Linked DNA regions of Homo sapiens: all the other regions are linked to region 2. The links are contacts of gene promoters, found by promoter capture Hi-C in human tissues and cell types (Jung and others, 2019). All regions are on one chromosome and are shown on one strand. Each heading gives the region's core, a stretch centred on a gene start or on the middle of the fragment in contact. The rest is flanking DNA. Distances are from core to core; before and after follow the strand shown.

What was found. The method cuts DNA at HindIII sites, captures the fragments that hold promoters and counts their contacts. A contact is called where the count stands out against the background at its distance.
Region 1: a fragment that was not itself captured here is called in contact with the fragment with the promoter of MTFR2 in region 2 in 2 of the 25 tissues and cell types used here (dorsolateral prefrontal cortex and hippocampus).
Region 3: a contact is called between a fragment that was not itself captured here and the fragment with the promoter of MTFR2 in region 2, in 1 of the 25 tissues and cell types used here (dorsolateral prefrontal cortex).
Region 4: a contact is called between a fragment that was not itself captured here and the fragment with the promoter of MTFR2 in region 2, in 1 of the 25 tissues and cell types used here (bladder).

Annotation. Positions count from the first base shown.
Region 1 is chr6:135,540,042-135,544,987 of GRCh38, forward strand. All of the region lies in intron 2 of AHI1-DT (AHI1 divergent transcript), which reads left to right. Among named protein-coding and RNA genes, the nearest start is that of AHI1-DT, 45 kb to the left of the region's middle. The HindIII fragment of the contact is 8,163 bases long and covers 1-4,946 here.
Region 2 is chr6:136,248,757-136,253,364 of GRCh38, forward strand. MTFR2 (mitochondrial fission regulator 2) reads right to left here and starts at 1,555. Exons shown (of 8, transcript NM_001099286.3): 1 at 1,220-1,555; 2 at 281-397. The coding sequence starts at 343. RefSeq lists enhancers at 1,005-1,224, 1,875-2,024. The HindIII fragment of the contact is 3,026 bases long and covers 951-3,976 here.
Region 3 is chr6:135,313,120-135,318,196 of GRCh38, forward strand. All of the region lies in intron 26 of AHI1 (Abelson helper integration site 1), which reads right to left. Among named protein-coding and RNA genes, the nearest start is that of MIR548A2, 76 kb to the left of the region's middle. The HindIII fragment of the contact is 5,785 bases long and covers 1-5,077 here.
Region 4 is chr6:135,621,136-135,626,044 of GRCh38, forward strand. All of the region lies in intron 2 of AHI1-DT (AHI1 divergent transcript), which reads left to right. Among named protein-coding and RNA genes, the nearest start is that of LINC02524, 11 kb to the right of the region's middle. The HindIII fragment of the contact is 3,430 bases long and covers 665-4,094 here.

The DNA of each region.
Region 1 (4,946 bases), core at 785-3,284, 710 kb before region 2:
ACACCTTGTCTGGGATCAGTTTTGTGTAGAATTAGGTTCACGGATAAAGTTAGCTTTGTTCTCTTCCAGTATTTTCTTGAATGAGGATGGTTTCCACTTAAGGAATAAAGACATTAGTTTTGATGGCTAAGAATGGAGTTTTCACTCAATCCTGTCTGCACATTGCCATCACCCCAAGTAATGCCTTAGCCACACTCACAGAAGTTTGATTAACTTGCTATGGAGAAGCATGAGCATTGGTATTTTTTATCCATTGTCTCCATGATACTACTGTGCAGTTTATTTAAAAAAATGGGCTTATGGTCAGGGAGGGTTAGGGCAGATGAACAGCTGGTCAGCAGAAAACAGGAACTGCAGCACCTATAAGGCTACAAATGAAGCAAAGCATCAGTCAAACACTTGGCCTCTTAGGGGAAACCATTTATTTGGGCAGATATGGTAGGGAAATGCGGGATAAATTTCTGCCATCATATGATAAGCCCTAGGATTTACCAAACACCTTGGATCATCTTGGAATCCTCTCATTCTAAGATAACAGATCTCTCTTCTGGCCTCCTATGGGTGTTTGGATATAAAAGACAGATACACAACTTTCACATCCAGGCCCTCAGATACACATTTCCCAGGGTAGCCCTGAGGTGGTGCTGCTGTACTTGTGGTCACATCTTGGTTTGAAAACGCTGGTAGAGAGAGTGGAACTTTTCCCTTCTTTTCACAAAGAGTATGGGGCTTTTGCAAGGCCAAAAATAGAAAAAAAAAGCCTAAAGTTGGTGCCTACATGTTTGTGTGGAGCATTTAAGCTCAAACAGGGCATATATATGTTGGGTAAGAAAGTGGATATTCATCCATAATGACAGTATACTGGTGATATCTCTGCTATGTCTTGACATAAATAGGATTCCTATAGTTTTACCTTGCTCAGTTGCAGGAGTGGGAAAGGCAGCTGAGTGGGGAAACTGAGTCAATATATACAATGTTAACAGTAGACTTTTGAGCCAAAGGATGGGGTGGACACATTCAAGAATGAAAGGAATAGTGGGTTTGCAACCGTAGAGGCTGAGAGCAACATTAAGTAACAAGTCACAGACAGCACTGTTCTCTCAACTCCCTCTGTGCAGTGCTAGTGTATATGAGTGGGGGTCCCCTGATAATGTCTACTCACACAGGAGCCAGCTTGAGTCAGTGGACAGCTGGGCTGACCCTACCTGCATTTGTACTTCAAAGCTATGTGATACTTTAGTGTATTATAGGCTGCACTTGGAGGTGTGTTGTTTTGAAGACAGATTTGTGGCACAACCAGTGGAATATTCTCTGCCCAAGAGTGGCGGCTGAGGCATCTAGCTTATTAAAAAGGCCTCCAAACTGGTCTCCCTGCCTCCACCCTTGCCCCTCACAACTCTACTCTCAACAAAACAATAGAAATGATCACTTGAGAATCAAACTCTGTCTTCTCTACTCAAAAACCCTTCTATGGCTCCTCTACTCAGGCTGAAAGTCAAGGTCAGTACCATGGCCTCTAAGGCCCTTTGTGATTTGTGTCCCCTCCCCTACTCCTCTGACTTCATCTCCTCTTACTGGTCCACACTTCTGCCCCAGGGCCTTTGCATTTGCTTGTCTTTCTGCTTAAAATACTCTTCCCTATATATTTTGGGGAGCTCATTCTTCTTCTCCTTTAAATCTTTGTTTGAGTGTCATCTTTGCAGAAAGGCTTTCCTTGACCACCGATTTCGATTTAAAGTGACATCTGACTGAGCCAGAAAGAAATAGATTCCCTGAATAGATAAATAATGAGCTCTGAAATTGAATCAGTAATAAATAGCCTACCAACTAAAAAAGCCTCAGGATCTCATGGATTCATAGTAGCATTCTACCAGATACATAAAGAAGAGCTGGTATTATTCTTACAGAAACTATTCCAAAAAATTGAGGAGGGACTTCTTCCCAACTCATTCTATGAGGCCAGCATCATCTTGATACCAAAATTTGGCAGAGACACAACAAAAAAGAAAACTTCAAGCCAATATCCTTGATGAACATTGATGGAAAAATTCTCAACAAAGTACTTGCAAACCGAATCCAGCAGCACCTGAAAAGGTTAATCCACCATGATCAAGTAGGCTTCATCTCTGGGAGACAGTGTTGGTTCATGAATAAATGTGATTCATCACATAAACAGAACTAAAGACAAAAACTACATGATTATCTCAATAGATGTGGAAAAGACTTTTGAAATAATTCAACATCCCTTCAAGTTAACAAGTCTCAAAAACTAGGTATTGGAGGAGCATGTTTCAAAATAATAAGAGCCATCTATGACAAACCCACAACAAACATCATAGTGAACAGGCAAAAGCTAGAAGCATTCCCCTTGAAAACTGGCACAAGACAAGAATGCCTTTTCTCACCACTGCTATTCAACATAGTATTGGAAGTCCTAGTCAGAGCAATCAGGCAAGAGAAAGAAATGAAGGGCATTCGAATAGAAAGAGAATTCAAAGTATCTCTGTTTGCAGAAGGTATGATTCTATATCTAGAAAACTCCATAGTCTCAGCCCAAAAGCTCCTTCAGCTGAAAAACAACTTCAACAAAGTTGCAGGATACAAAATCAATGTACAAGAATCACTAGCATTCCTACACACCAACATCAACCAAACTGAGACTCAAATCAGAAAGGCAATCCAATTCACAATTGCCACACATACAAAATAAAATACCTAGGAACACAGATAAGCAGGGAAGTAAAAGATCTCTACAATGAGAACTACAAAACACTGCTCAAATAAATCAGAGAAGACACAAACAAATGTAAAAACATCCCATGCTCATGGGTAGGAAGAAGCAATATCTCTAAAATGGCTATACTGCCCAAAGCAATTTCCAGATTCAATGTTATTCCTATCAAACTACCAACTTCATTTTTCACAAGGCTAAACAAAATTATTTAAAAATTTATGTGGAACCAAAAAAAGAGCCCGAATAGCCAAGGCAATCCTAGGCAAAAAGAACAATGCAGGAGGCGTCATGTTACCCGACTTCAAACTATTCTACAAGGCTACAGTGACCAAAACAGCATGGTACTGGTACAAAAGCAGGCAAATAGACCAATGGAACAGAATGGAGACCCCAGAAATAAGGCTGCATATCTATGACCAACTGATCTTCGACAAAACTGATAAAAATAAGCAATGGGGAAAAGACTCCCTTTTCAATAAATGGTGCTGGGATAACTGGCTAGCCATATGCAGAAGATTGAAGCTGGACCTCTTCCTTATACCCTAAAATCAATTCAAAATGGATTAAAGACTTAAATGTAAAACCTCAAACTATAAAAACCCTGGAAGACAACCTAGACAATACTATCCTGGACCTAGGAATGGGCGAAGATTTCACAACAAAGACACCAAAAGCAATTGCAACAAAAGCAAAAGTTGACAAGTGGGATCTAATTAGGTCAAAGAACTTCTGCACAGCAAAAGAAACTATCATCAAAGTAAACAGACAAGCTACAGAATGGGAGAAAATATTTACAAACTATGCATCTGAGAAAGGTCTAATATCCAGCATCTATAAGGAACTTAAACACATTTACAAGAGAAAAAACAACCCTATCAAAAAGTGGGCAAAGGACGTGACCACTTTCAAAAAGAAGACATGCATATGGGCAAGAAGCATATGAGAAAAAGCTCAATATCACTGATTATTAGAGAAAAGCAATGAAAACCACAATAAGATACCATCTCACATCAGTCAGAATGGCTATTATTAAAAAGTCAAAAAATAACAGATGCGGGGGAGGTTGTGGAGAAAAGGGAATACTTTATTACACTGTTGGTGGGAGTGTAAATTAGTTCAACCATTGTGGAAGGCAGTATGGCATTTCCTCAAAGAGTTAAAAGCAGAACTACCATTTGACCCAGTAATCCCATTACTGGGTATATACCCAGAGGAATATAAATCATTCTACCATAAAGACACATGCACGCAAATGTTTATTGTCTCACAATACCAAAGACATGGAATAAACCTAAGTGCCCATCAGTGACTGACTGGATAAAGGAAATGTGGCACATACGCACCATGGAATATTATGCAGCCATAAAAAAGAATGAGATCATGTCTTTTGTGGGAACATGGATGGAGCTGGAGACTGTCATCGTTAGCAAACTAACACAGGAACAGGAAACCAAATACTGCATATTCTCACTTATAACTGGGAGCTATATGATAAGAACTTATGAACACACAGAAGGAAACAACAGACACTGGGGTCTACTTGAAGGGGGAGGGTAGGAGGAGGAAGAGAAGAAGAAAAGATAACTATTGGGTACTCTGTTTAATACCTGGGTGGTGTAATAATATGTACAACAAACCCCTATGACATATGTATATCTATGTAACAAACCTTCACATATACCCCAAAACTAAAATAAAAATTAAAAAAATTAAAAAAATTAAAATTCATGAAAAAAAAAGTGACACCCAACACTTCCTAACCCATGTCACTGCTTTATTTTTCTATTTTCTTCATTCATTCATTCATAAGTTCCATGAGAGCAGGGCTTTTTCTCTTTTGTTTTCTGCTACAGGAACAGTAAGTGCCTAGAACAATAAGTGGTGATTAAGAACTAGCTCCTTGCTGAATAAATGAAAGAATATGTGTATTATCCCAAACCATAATGTTTCTTGGTGTCAGTAACACTGGGAGTGGGCACTGACCACGTGGTCCACATGCAGAATATGCACAGCTATCCTCGCTGGTGACCTTCTTGCTTTGTGGATGTCAAAGAAAGTAGACAGCTATATGGACTCTGCCACCTGGATAACTCTAGAGGTGAGTGGTAGGGGTTATGAACAGCACTGAGGAGCTGGGAGTGGCTGTTTGTTGGGTTTCTAGCTTCAGGACAAGTTCTATGAGTTTCCTGAGCCCTCATGATCTAAAACTATG
Region 2 (4,608 bases), core at 305-2,804:
GTATCTGTGCAATAAATGTAATTCTGTGAAGCTCATGTCTATATTTTGCTTCCTTTGTATCTTCTGTTGGCATTTGTCCTATCAGGTAAATATGTTCTCAATAATCTTATCCCTCTTCTAACTCAAATCATCAAAGCTATACTATTACAAACTCACCTTTGTTCCAACTAAAAAGAAGCAACAACTTTGCCTTAAATCAAATGATTACATATAAGTCATTTTCAAAATGAAACCCAAGAACAAATACAACAGATCCATTCCAATCCAAAACGACATTTACCTGTTCTACAGGAACGCCAAAATATTCCAGCATCTCTCTTAAGATATTCAGTATGAGAGACATTGATGAAGCAAATACAGAAGCCAATTCAAAGGAACATTATCAGTTTCTTGGTGCCTTTGGGGAAAATTTTAGAAAATGTTACTCTTGACAAATAAATGCCAAATTGTACTACATAACCTGGAAAAGTCCTCTTGATACACGACACAGTCAACTAATTTCTCCTAGCCAGCATTCTTTTAAGTCAGAGAAAAAGAAAGGAAGGGGAAGTCTGGGGGAAAGAGAGGGTTGTAAAGGAAATTTCAATTAATTGGTTAGATTACATTAAAACCTCGTAGGATGTTTGAGCCTAGTTAATAGAGACCAATCAACAAACTGGACATCTACTTAGTAGGCAAGGCTTCAAGTTACATGCCACAGCGAAGCTCGCTCTTTCCTGAAAGCTTTGGGCTGAGACTCTTAGCAGATGGGTGAGTTTAGCCAACCCTTGAAAGCAGGCAAGGGACGACTCAGTTTTTAAAAAAATAAACAGTAGCTCTTCTCACACACATATCCTCACGTGTCAAGGGTGGGGCCAGGTGAAGATAACTGAATCATGGGGGCAGCTTCCCCCATACTATGCTCGTGGTAGTGAATAAGTCTCATGAGATGTGATGGTTTTATCAACAGGAGTTCCCCTGCACAAGCCCTCTTGCCTGCCACCATGTAAAATGTGACTTTGCTACTCATTTGCCTTCAGCAATGATTGTGAGGCCTCCCCAGCCATGTGGAATGCCCATCCCTCCTCACTCTTTTAAAATGAGAAGCATGAATTCCAGATACGGGACGTGACTTGGTCACCCATCTAGTAACAGGCCGTGACCAGAGCCGGATCGCGTCCCTCGCTTTGGTCACAAGCTTCCTGGTGCTCTCCAAACACAGCGTGGTAGCCTTGCTCACCTTCCTCCGAAGCCGAGCCCCCGGGAATCACCAGAACATCAAGCGGAGGGCGTTAGGAATCCTCAATCAAATTCCAGACTGCGCCACTCCTTGTGCAGATCGCTCAGACGTCTACCCAGACCTCGACCCAGTTTCCACCCGCGCGCCTCGGCTTGCAGCCACAGGCGGTAACGATGCCCTCAGCGAGGAATAAGAGGTCAACCCGGTGCCCAGCCCTGGAGCCTCACGCTCAGCCAGGGTAATGTTATGGGAAGCGCGCCCCCGTCCTCCTGCGCCCAACCAACCCACCTGCTAGTCCCTAGGACCGGACTGCTACTTCCGCATGACAGGACTGCTACTTCCGCATCCCAGGACGAAATCAAACTCCGCGGGCCAGGACCCGTAACCAGCCTCATTGGGCAAAACTGAAGATCGCTGCTTCTGATTGGTCATTGCATGATGTCAGGCAATTCGGGAAGCGACTGCTTTTCCTTCTCAAGAGGCGGGTCTTCCGAGAGTCAGCCAATAGGAGCTGACGGGCAGGGCAGGTCGCGTTAGGACAGCGTCGCTCCCGCAGGGCAAGGTTTTAGGTACAAACTCGTGAGCTGGACTCGCAGTCCGGAGTTCGTACCCCACAGAACTCTTCGCAGGGAGTGTCTTACTCGCTACAGCCGGACCCTAAGCGCATCCGCCTTCCCAAGTTCATCTGACACAAAATCGCGATTTATTTTTTGGTCATTTCATTTGTTCAGCTAATATTAAAATACTTGTGGAACTGGCAGAAGCCAAGCACTACCCCCGAGGGTTTTGCAGCTTTGCAGTGGCTAGGATTCATTCTTTCGTTCACTAAATACACCTACGTATCCAGGCTACCGAATATTGGGCCGGACACTCTCCTGGCTTAGCCGAGGATGGCAAGTGATATGACAGGTGATATCCCAGTTTTCATTTCTGATTTGAGGTTATTGGCTTCATACGAAATAGCTTCCTCTTCTGAATTTCAGCAAGACGTGCACTGGAGTGATATAACAATTTAAGATGTGTGCCTGCTACTGACATAATTTGAAAATCTAAGTTTTGAACTAATTTATCTATGGTCAACATCACTTATTCATTCAACCAATAATAGATATCTACTACGTAGCAGACACCATTCTAAGCACGGAAAATACCTTAATGAGAGGGCAGGTCCTCGTCCTCCTGGAGCTTACAGGCCAGCGGGGCATCTCGTTCCATTCTAACCCTAATTTGCTTTTCTCTATAGCACTTATCATATATATTTAGTTACGCTTCCACTACCACCAAACAAAATTGTAGACTCCAGGAGAACAGGAAGTTGTTTTGATCCATGCTCTATCTTTCCCCAGTGCTTTAGAAGAGTGTCTGGTATATAATAGGCATTCAGTCTATTTGTTGAATAAAATACCTAAATGTGGAATGACAGAAAAGATGATAATGATTTGGGACTAAGCAACTAGCAAAACAATTGATAGCAATAATAGTGATATGCCCAGTAGAGCTGGATACGGCTGAGTGAGCGCAGAACAAGGATGATGATGGATCAGAAACCCTAGATGGAGTAATTTTCTCAAGTTCCTTGTCCTTCCCTTTGCCCTTGTGAATAAATCACGACTTTATAACCCCCTCCCTTTCCCACTCTCTTATCAAACAGCAAACAGACAGGGCCAGAATGAAAACATCCCTCCAGAATGAGAACGGAACCACTACTCTTCCAGCTGCACTATTAACATAGGTTAATATTCCAACTGATTTAAGTAGCAAGGAGGACCCAGGTCAAATACTACATCCATAAATGCTTTGCTGACAACTTTCTTCTAAATTCTTCAGAGATATTTCTTCCAGTTTACTAAAGCATTCATAATTCCATTTTGACAAAAACATTTTATGTGATTGGACATCTTTTTCCATTGCTCATTTTTACACGAAATTAGATTTTCCTGAACTCTTAGAATGAGATAGGGTCCAAGAAAGCTTTTCTGACATCACAAAGCTAGCTTTTCTGTTGTCTCTGAGTAGTGTTCAAAAATATAGTGGCTTGCTTTCTGGAGTTTTCCTGTGTTCCCCTCCCCCAGTTTGATCCAGGTAGAAAACTTGCTATTCACAAGCTGCATGTTAACACTTTTTAAAGTATCTAGTTGTCAAGTATTAGCTCATTATATTGAATTAGCTCACTATATTGAGCTAGTAAGTCTATGTCCCTAAGATTTTTTACCTACTGACTCTGATTTCTGTCCTTTAAATATGTAACATGTTAAAATGAGGAGATCGGACAAGTATCAAATACCAGTCTCCTGATCCTATGTGATTTGAACATGTCTCTTCTCTAGCAAAGCCTTTTAAGGATTTGAACACAGCAATCAAGAACCTATCTTGGCTGGGAGCGGTGGCTCACGCCTGTAATCCCAGCAATTTTTAAGACAGCCCAGATTGTATTTGTTTCAAGCAGCAGCAGCAGACATAAAATTAAATCAAGCCTTTATAAATACGCAATTATCATTCTTTCATTTATACACACTCAAGGACCATTTATTACATAACTACAGTATGTATGCCATGCACAATACTAAATGCTAAAATTTTATTCTGGTGGAGACATGTAAATGGAATGAATTACTAGCCTAAAGGTATGTGCTGCATTCAGTGGCCCCTGAGCAAAAAGAGGAATTGGAAATTTTTTGCTAGGGTGTAAGACTTAAGATAGGTAAGTGAACAAGGAGTAGCATAAGGCAAAGTGGCCAAAAACAGTACATAGGGAGTTCCTACAGCTCATCATGACTGAGGTTCAGACAACAGGAAGACATCAATGCGTAAATTTTGGTTTTAAAATGACTGTAATTTTGCACTTGAAAAACATCCCAGAGATGGCAATATAAAGATGAAATTTATGGGTAGAGTCCAAGCTAAGAGACCAATGCAGCAGCTAGGGATAGTGATGAGCATCTATTATTGGGGGTTGAGGGGGGACGGCGGGGCGGCAGTGGAGAGAAGACAGAACACTTTATAGGGATGTCCAACTAGCTTAATGGATAAAGAACATAAGTTTGCAGTAGGATGGGGTACAGATGATGACAGTTTGGAGTGTTTAAGTTCCAGCAGAACTATCCAGGGAAGAGTTGGAGAGAAAAAATGGAGTTCAGGAGAGAAGTTTAAGAGGTAAATTTCAGAGTTACCAGCATCTAGATAAAAATGTTTGAAAACCTGTCATTCACAAAGTACTTCCATCCTTGTTCCTTCCACATACCAATGTTATTTACTATTATTTACTAATTTTTGCTTCCCTCCCCCCCCCTTTGTAAACTTAGCCAGAGACAGTAGCTGTGAAATGCTGGATTTGAAGTGCTAGAACATGTTTCACACTAACCTGAAATATGACAGCACCATGAAAACTC
Region 3 (5,077 bases), core at 1,526-4,025, 930 kb before region 2:
CTCAGAGTGCACTCAAATCATTTTAATTACTCGAGGCAACATTATATTTCTTAGGGGCTTCTTTTCCATAAACATAGATCATTTGTTATACCTTCTCTCACTGGGAAGTAAAATACTGTCTTACACACATAGCACATTCCTAAGAGAAAAAAATATATGCAGGATTCTACTCTAACACGTGGATTCAGATAGAGAAGATCAAATCATGTTCTTCAACAAAAGAAATCCACGCATCTTAAGATTTAAAGCCTAATTTGAGTTCCATATCCTCCATGAGAACATTCCTACTCCCTTGCCCAAATGGAGTTTTATCCTCTGCCACTCCTTTACATGACTCTAAATTCCTTAAATCTATTAGAATTAAGGTTTGGGCATCAGTGGGATTAGCCTGAAGTAGACCTCAAGGGTGACTGACGATGGTATCTGAAGAACTGGTCTGCTGCAATATGAATATGAAGGTATGTTTGAAGCATGGAGATCACTCTATGAGGGGCAAAAGTCATAGGAAATTTGAAAAATCAACTACAGTCTAAACTAAGACTATGATGCAGTGAGTCCACCTAAGTAGAGTGGCACAGGCAGTGAGAACTGGGAAGTTTTGGAAACAAGTAGGAGGTCCCTATCCATAAGAACACAGGCACATCAGGAAGAGGAAGGGGCAATACCAACTTCACAGGTAAGACACTGACAGAGTTCTTTATGTTTCCTCTGGCAGAGTCAATGTTAACTCAAGGGTAATAGAAACATACTAAGGGAGGGGGGGTCAGGTCACCTCAGTTTCAAAGGTTACCGTGTTGCAGAGTCAGGGACATGAGAAAAATCACAAAGAGTAAAGACTGTATGTTTCATAGCATCACACAGTTTTTAATACAGACTAAAAGTATTGTTAGCTGTCACAGCAACCCTTTACACCAATGTTATAAATGCTTCCACTGCATTAAAGGTTTTTATGTTGTAAATTTAGACCTCAGGTTTGTGTTATGTTTGTGTTAACCTTATGTTTATGTTATGGACCTCATGTCTGTGTAACCCCCAAATTCATGTGTTAAAATCCTAACTCTCAACAAGATGGTTGTTAGGAGGTATTTGGGAGGTAATTAGGTCTTGAGGGCAGAGCCCTCATAAATGGTATTGGTGCTTTTATAATGAGAGACACAAAAAAGCTTGCTTCCTCTCTCTGCTCTCTGCCCAGTGAGGATAAGTGAGGTTGCAAACCAGGAAGGAGACTTTCACCAGACCCTGGATCTGCCAGCACATTGATCATGAACTTTCCAGCTTCCAGAAGTGTGAGAAAAAAATTTTGTTATTTAAGCCACCCAGTCTACATTTGTTACAGCAGACACAACTAAGACAAGCATTTTCCTAAATTCTTAAATCTGCTGCTGAATTACAAACAATGGGTAATATTACACTTGTAACATTTGCCCATAATCAAATTCCTGCCAATCCTCTTGACTGTATCCCTTACAGTCCTTACATTGTTGTAGGCAACCATCACCATATATCCTTGCTTATTTGAAACTGATGTTTTACCAAGAAACCATTTTTCTTTCAGTTCCTTACAGCACAGGCTACTCATTCTCACATAGTTCATGGTTCTCTCATGAACCATGAGAGCCGGGAGTTAACAATGGCCTCCTCTTAGTTCCCTACTGCTGATTTTAGGGTATTGCAATGCCAAAGCACTTTTCCTTGGGTGCTCTGACACCTGGCTATTACATCTCCTGCTTATCTTTGCATCTGTGATCTGCAGACCTTGTGGTCATTCTAACACAATGGCTGTCAATATTGGCTGCACATTAAAATTACCTGGAAAGCTTTTGAAATCTGCCCTTGCCTACGTCCTATTTCACCAACTAAATGTATTTGAAGGGGTGGAGATTGTAATCCATATCTAGTTTTTTAACTGGTTTGGTGATTTCAATGTGAAGCCAAAGTTGAGACCTTTGTTCTAACCTAAGAATTAAGTATGTCAGCTCTTTGTTCATCAGTTTCCTCTTCATCCTAACTCTTGCTATCATCCTGGAATCTTAATGTTCAAGAGTACAACCTGTCCAACACTCTGGGTCCTAGTTCCTTGACCAGTTCAACTCTAATAACATGTTCCTCAATTTCACTTCAGCTTTTATACATACTTTATGAATTTATCATAACCTGAGCTGCCTGACATCTGAGATACTAAATAAGCAAAAGAGTTTATGGCCTTGAACTCTATAGTTCTAGCTTGGTGACTCCTTTTCCGTGTGATGCTATGCCTCTACCTGGGCCCCGGTAGCTTGCTGTAACCTTGTAGAGGAGAACGTGCTTTCTAACTCTGCCAATCTTCTGATTCTACGTCCTTTCCAAATGGATAATCCTCTATGGTGCATCACTCTGGTAATTCTTACCAATTCTATCAAGTCTCTCAACCTCTTGTGTTCCTTTCACATTCACAACTCCAATTATATATTAAACCAAATCTGCCTTCTCTACTGCTATGCCCTAGATGCTGAGAAGAGACTACTGAAGAAGAAAAAATCCAACTGTAGATTTATGCCACCTCCATTCTTATGGTATCCAAAAGAGCAGCTCCCAGAACTACTAAGAAATCTTTTTATATGTCCTAAATGAGCCCCTATTTTCCTTACTCAGATGGTTATTATTCTTCTTGTGCTCCTATCTCACTCCTTTGCCACTCGCATTAGAAATGAACCTTGCTTTTTGTTTTGGAGAACATAAAAATATCTTTAATTTCTAGACTTCAACCCTTTATTAACTTATCTGCATCCCTATCCACACTTACCTGTTTAGAGGGGCACTGCTCTAAGCTCCATCCTGTTGACATTTTTGGCCAGAGAATTCTTTGTTGAGGGGAGCTGTCCTCTGCATTCTAGGATACTGAGCAACATCCATGACCTCTGCCCACCAGTATTATCCCCCACCTTGTAGTTGAGAAAACAAAAAAACATCTCCAAACATTGCTAAATGACTCCTGGATGGCACAATCACTCTCACTTGAGAACCCTCTGCTTGGAGCAAGACTGATCTGTCAACCTGTCTTTCCAATAAAGTACTTCCTGCTTCCTCCAAGATCCACTGTGTCCTTGGTGTCCTTTCTTTATCTGTCTTCAACCTGAACCTGTCTATTGGCTTTGTCTCCTTAATATATAATTTTACATCTGTCCATTATTTAAAAAATCATTCATGGACACCAGACCTCCCTTTAGCCACTGAGGAATCTTTTTTTATTCTTCAAAGTGAAACTTTGAGAATGGCTTCCATGAGAGTTCACATGCTGAGGCCTCATTCCACCTTTACTCTGCTCTTTAATCCTTGCCACTCTATTGATACCGGTACAAAGCTACCAGGGTCCTCTTGATGACCAAATGCTTCGACAACCTAACTGCTTGGCTGTTTCCAACTATACTCTTCTTGAACCTCTCTACCTCTTCTGGCTTCCAGGGCACTTTTTTCTGTTTATTATTTTTTCTTTTTTTCCTTTTCCTTTATTCTTTCTTAATTTTCTCTTCCTTTGACTGTCCCTTAATACTAGTGTTTAATTAGGTTCTGTCCTTGGCCTTCTCCTCTTATAGCTCTATGACATACTTTCTGGGCTCTGCCTTCATTACAAGCTTCCACTTACTGATATAATAGAACTAACACACTAATTCTCATTTGATTTTGAAGCTCTACATTCTCTCAAATTCCAATCCTGCATTTCTGGCTCCCAGTGAATATTTCTATCTGGGAGCACTACAGATACTACTAACAAATTGAGATATCTAAAACTGAGCTTATCATATCTTACTCTGCAAGGAATGGTGATTCCTTTTCCCTGTCTTCCCAAATCTTTCTTATTTATTTCATTACTTCTATGGCACCACTATTTATTCAGTTGTCTAAGACCCTTAGCAAAATCCTAGATTCCAACTTCACTAATAAAATCCAATCAATCATAAAATCCTGTCAATTACAGCTTATGTCCCCTGACCTCCATCCCCCCTAGTTCAGGTTTTTGTATTTTATTTCCATGGATTCCTAATTTCCTTGTGCTAGGTCCTTAGCTACCTCAAATTCAGCAACTATTCTGCTGCACTAGAATGACCTTTCTAACATGCAAATCTGTTCATGTCATTCCCTGAATTACGTCCTTCAGGGGATCCCCTTCGTCAGGAGTATAAAATTTAAGTGTTTTAGTAGAGTATGCTACGCTCTTCTGTGGCCTGGTTCCTGGATTTCTCCTGTACTTCTCTCTATTAGAACTTATGCCCAGACATAATCATACCATCCCATAACTTACTCACGTTATTCCCTCTGCTGGAAAGGTTTTTCTAACTTCACTGACCTAACACATATTTTTGCATCCTAGATGCCTCAGGTCAAGTATTTCCTCCTTGGGAACTCTTCATGGACTCCCCCAGGGTATATTTAAGAGGCTTTCTTTGTATGTGTTCCCAATATACTGTGTACATATCTGCATTATAGTTTCTACCAGAGTCTACTGGACTTGCTTGCTTGCAGGTGTGTGCACCAGCCTGTAAGCAACTTAAGGGCAAGTGCCTTGCCTACTCCTGAAACTCCTGTTTCAGTGGGGATTAATAGAGCGCATGGATGAAGGCATTCAATAAAACATGCTGACTGACTGAATGATATACGTCAGGTTCAACTGTCAAAAAACTTTATTTTGACACTGTAATGATATGTACATGAAATGTATTTGTAAAAAAAATCTATGTTGGTTCATGGAATCAAGAAGCAGTGAGGTTATTCAGTGTAAGGGAAGAGCTAATTTAATATAATAAAACAAGTTTAGTAAGCAATATACATGATAGTACAGTGCTTATTAAACCTTTCTACCAAAGTACTGCTAACAACAGAAGAATACTGATTAATATCCCTGAAGGGTCTGATGACACAGACTAAAATACATGACATTTCTCTGGCTACTCTGGCTGGTAATACATCCACATTCATTTTAACGTAAAAACATTTTAAATTATTTGCAAGTAAAAGGAATGCTCCAGAAAGACAGAACTTCTTAATTTTGTGAACTCCAGTGAGCTCTAGCATAAATGTTTACCTCTCAGGTGGGGCTGAT
Region 4 (4,909 bases), core at 1,130-3,629, 630 kb before region 2:
ATTGTCACTTTCTGATCAGTATGGGACAAGTTGGGATACATAAAACTCTATTCTGTGTTAAAGGAATATTTCAAAGATTCCATGTTTAATGAAATAAAGTATTGCCTAGAAATTAGAGACTTGTGATTACTTGCACTGATTCATTCTGAAGTTTTCTGAATGCTCTTTTAAAAATCTGTAGCTCTTAGTTTCTTATTTCTTTCAGATATCAAGAAATGCGGATTTCCAATGCACTTAGCTTATGCTCAATATTAAGTGAAATAATTAATTTAGCATGTCCATGATGATACTAAATTAGTAATTCAGGGTAGTTAAAATTGCAGTGGATGCTGAACTGATCCAAGAAACAGTTTCAACCTTGTGAACTGGTTTGGAATTAGTAGTCTATCATTAAATAGTAATTAAACATCAAAGGCTTGAAATGGCCCATTATGTGCAACAGAAAGTTTGTGTGTTAGAATAAGACACTTGAATTAATATATATTTCATAATTTTATATAGCAATTATGTGGTGATAAACAGTATAATTATTTTATTTTTTATGAGTTCATTGTCTACATTTTATATTTTACATAGTAGTTATGGAGAAATTGCCTACTCTGTGATGATAAACAGAAGACTTTTTATTATTTTTAAACTCACTTTCTAAAAATATAACACAAAATTGGTTTATTTTATTTTATTTATTTATTTTGAGACAAGGTCTCACTCTGTTGTCCAGGCTGAAATGCAATGGCTCAATCTTGGCTTGCTGCAACCTCCACCTCACAGGCTCAAGTGATCCTCCCACCTCAGCCTCCCAAGTAGCTAGGACTACAGATGCACCACTATACTCAGCTAATTAATTTTTTTTTTTTTTTTTTTGGAGAGACAAGGTCTCACTGTTTTGCCAAGGCTGGTCTCACACTCCCAGGCCCAAGCGATCCTCTCATCTCGGCCTCCCAAAGTGCTGGAATTACAGGCATGAGCCACCATGCCCGGCTAATTTTCTTTTAAATCCCTATACAGAATGTAATTTGAATATGGATTTTGTTTTTGTAACTCATATTTGAAAAATGTCTCCTTTAAAAAAATCATACAAATATTGAAAGTATTTGAGATTTTTTAACCTAAATCAGGAATTTGTTTTAACATCTGTTATCAGTCATCTGAAGCCACAACACTTGGTTTTTAGAGCCATTCCACTTTATGATGTGAACATGCATGATGCATGCAAGGAAGAGTAACATTTCATACTATGTGCAAAATTGTCAAACCTTGTATCTTTGGTATGTGGGAGATTGGGGAAGTGAAAAATGAGTCTGTTTTATTAGGGGCAGTGGTATATCATGGTGTATGGGTCATCATTGTGAATCACAGGGAAAGTGGCATAGCATTTGGGATTGATCCACATGCCACCAGTAAATCTTGGCCCAAATCAAATCGAAATAGCACAGGAATTAAGATAGTTAACATTTGGCAGGGCACGGTGGCTCACGCCTGTAATCCCAGCACTTTGGGAGGCTGAGGTGGGCAGATCACAAGGTCAGGAGATCGAGACCATCCTGGTTAACACGGTGAAACCCCCTCTCTACTAAAAAAAACATACAAAAAATTAGCTGGGCATGGTGGCATGCACCTGTAGTCCCAGCTACTTGGGAGGGTGAGGCAGAAGAATTGCTTGAACCTGGGATGGGGAGGTTGCAGTAATTCGAGATCGCGCCACTGGACTCCAGCCTGGGTGACAGAGCGAGACTCCATCTCAAAAAAAAAAAAAAAAAAAAAAAAAAGCTAACATTTATCAATGGTTAATTATGTACCTGGCACAGTTCTAAGTGTTTAAAGTGTATTAAATCATTAATCCTCACAAAAACCTTTTAAAATAAATACTGTTATTAATTAGATACCAGCAGGGGTGAGCATTGTATAGAGGAGCAAACAGGTATGGAGTGGTTGAGTAGCTTGCTACACAACTAGAAAGTGGCGGTGCTGAAATTGAACTCGGGCAGTTTGGCTACCCAGTCAGCACTCCTAACTATTTTATTAAATAAATATCTCCCTCGGGACTTTGATTGAGGTCTAAGTCATAGAAATGGTCTGTTTTCCTGAATTTTTCTTCGTTAAGATGAAAGTTCTAACTTCCTGCCAGTAAATGTCTAATTTATCTGGAATTTGTATCTTCAGGATATTTGAGTCTTAGAGTTTGTTTCATTGTCCCAGTGGTCAGTCTAATGTTGAGCTTAAGTCATTTATGAATTCAGCCCTTTTGTTTTTATGAAGATGTAGAAAATATTCTATGGCTTTCTTTTCCTTTTCTTTTTGTAGAGACGGAGTCTCGCTCTGTCGCCCAGGCTGGAGTGCAGTAGCGCGATCTCTGCTCACTGCAACCTCCGCTTCCGGGTTTCAAGCAATTCTCCTGCCTCAGCCTCCCCAGTAGCTGGGACTACAGGCACTTGCCGCCACACCCAGCTAAAGAAAATATTCTATGGCTTTCCTGTGGGTTGCTCCTAAGCTTCCTCCAAGATATTTCTTCTTTCTCCTCTTTCCAGAAGCACAGTCACCCATCTAGCTTGGGCTCTCTTTAGCCTCCTCTGTAGTAATCCTAACTCTAGTCTCCTTACAATTTATTTTCTAGATTAACTTAAGCAATGTTCTGATCACAAACTTTACTATTGTCTCTCCATTTATCATTATATACAATCCAAGTCCCTTAATGTGATAGCCCAATGTCTTGTTGCTCTGGATCTACCTTTCTTTTCTTATCTTAAAATTCTTAATCATCATGGAAGCTAACATTTATTGAGCACTTACTATATAACAAGCACTGTGCTTACTTCCAAACATACAAAGATGAAGAATAGAACCTACTTTCTCCCTTTGTGATTATCACAGGGATTATCTCACTTAATCTTTGTGGAAACCATATGAGCTATGTAATATTATTAACTCCATTTTAATGAAGAGGAGACAAAGTCTTGAAGAGTTTATGTAACTTATTCAAGGTCACAAGAGAACCATGTGGTAGATCTGGGATTCACACCCTCACTTTTAAGCCCTATACAATACTCCCCATGTCATAAATTTTCTAACTCTAACCCATCTTTAGACGTATGGGGCTACTCACCACTCCCTTTATATCCCTCACTTTTTTCTCTTCATTATCATGTTTTATGTCATTTTATTCTCCTTGTATGTAGGTCTCAATTTTTTTCCTTATTTCTGCCTATTGAGTAACAACTGCCTTCAACCTGTGGATATAATTGACCTCTCCCACCACAGAACCAAAGCTTCATTTATTTTCTTAACTCCCATAGTGCTATAACCTTGTATGCTGCTTATACAGACTATATGATGAGCTTTATCGAGTGCTAAAATTTTTTTTAAGAGTAAACGCTTCTAATTATGTGTCATAAGTAAGTTCTCAGAGAAGCTGATTCAGACTTTCCACCAAAGGGTTGTGTTGGTACAGAAAACATAAACATCAACCACATTTTAGCACAATTTTCATCATTCTCTTGTGGTTTGACTTTTCTGATGATGTCTAAACTTAGACATAAAAGGAAACCCCGCCTTATATGGATGACATGGAATGGAAAAGAAGCTCCATGGCTTTCCTGTTTCACTGGTGGGTTTGACCTTTTCCACACGTGCATTTGCTTTGAACTCCTCCTAAGTTAGGTGCTACGTGAATACAAGTTATAATTAACATGCTTTCTTTGGGTCTCCTTGAACAAAATGTTCTCTCTCATGATATGCTATGCATATTTACTTTGAATGAATAATAGTTTTGAATTTGGATTTAGAAAGCAGATAATGTGACTGAAATCCATGTTTCTTCTTTGCCTTTAATCTAGGGCTGCAGGATGGGGCCCAAATGTGAAGGGAATAAAACATGAGAGAACCTTGTTTAGCCACGAGATAACCAGGGATAAGAGTTTAGCTTATAGGCTCTAATCAAACGTGTTATTTTTCATTGAAAACTGGCGTATGGTATCACTATGCAGCTGTTAACCAGCTGTTTCCTTTCTACTGGGGTTCTTGTGTGCTCTCTGCTTTAAATTTATGTGTTGCTTGGGATCCCGAAGGATAAAATAGTACTTGTAGGTTCAAGGTAGTGGTTGGAATGGTTGTTTGCATGTTTTTAGATTTTTTAGTTTAAAGCAACATGTTTAAAATGTTTTCTTCTAATTGCTATTGTGAATATGCAAATGTTTATTTAATCATGCTCAAGTGAGAGAAGATATAGAAACAATTCATAGGCTAATTCAAACCATGTTTTTCCCTCTCTTGTTTGCCCTACACTAATCTGCCAAGCCTGTATGATTGTCTCAGTTCTCCATTTAGCACCGAAGTTAGTTTTGAACCCTGAAAAAAGAGACATTTATATACTTAATTATTTACATATAATAATAAATATCGTGGTCATGTAATGGCTACTTCAGTCATTTTATTTCCGGAATTGGTTCCTTCCAGTGGGTTCTTGGTCTCGCTGACTTCAAGAATGAAGCCATGGACCCTCGCAGTGAGTGTTACAGTTCTTAAAGATGGTGTGTCCGGAGTTCGTTCCTTCAGATGTTCAGATGTGTCCAGAGTTTCTTCCTTCTGGTGGGTTTGTGGTCTTGCTGACTTCAGGAGTGAAGCCACAGACCTTTGCAGTGAGTGTTACAGCTCTTAAAGGTGGCGCATCCAGACTTGTTCATTCCTCCGGGTGGGTCGTGATCTTGCTGACTTCAGGAGTGAAGCCACAGACCTTTGCAGTGAGTGTTACAGCTCTTAAAGATGGCATGTCCAGGGTTGTTTGTCCCTCCCAGTGGGTTCGTGATCTCGCTGGCTTCAAGAGTGAAGCTGCAGACCTTCGCAGTGAATGTTACAGCTCATAAAGGTAGTGCAGACCCAAAGAGTGAACAGCAGCATGATTTATTGCAAAGAG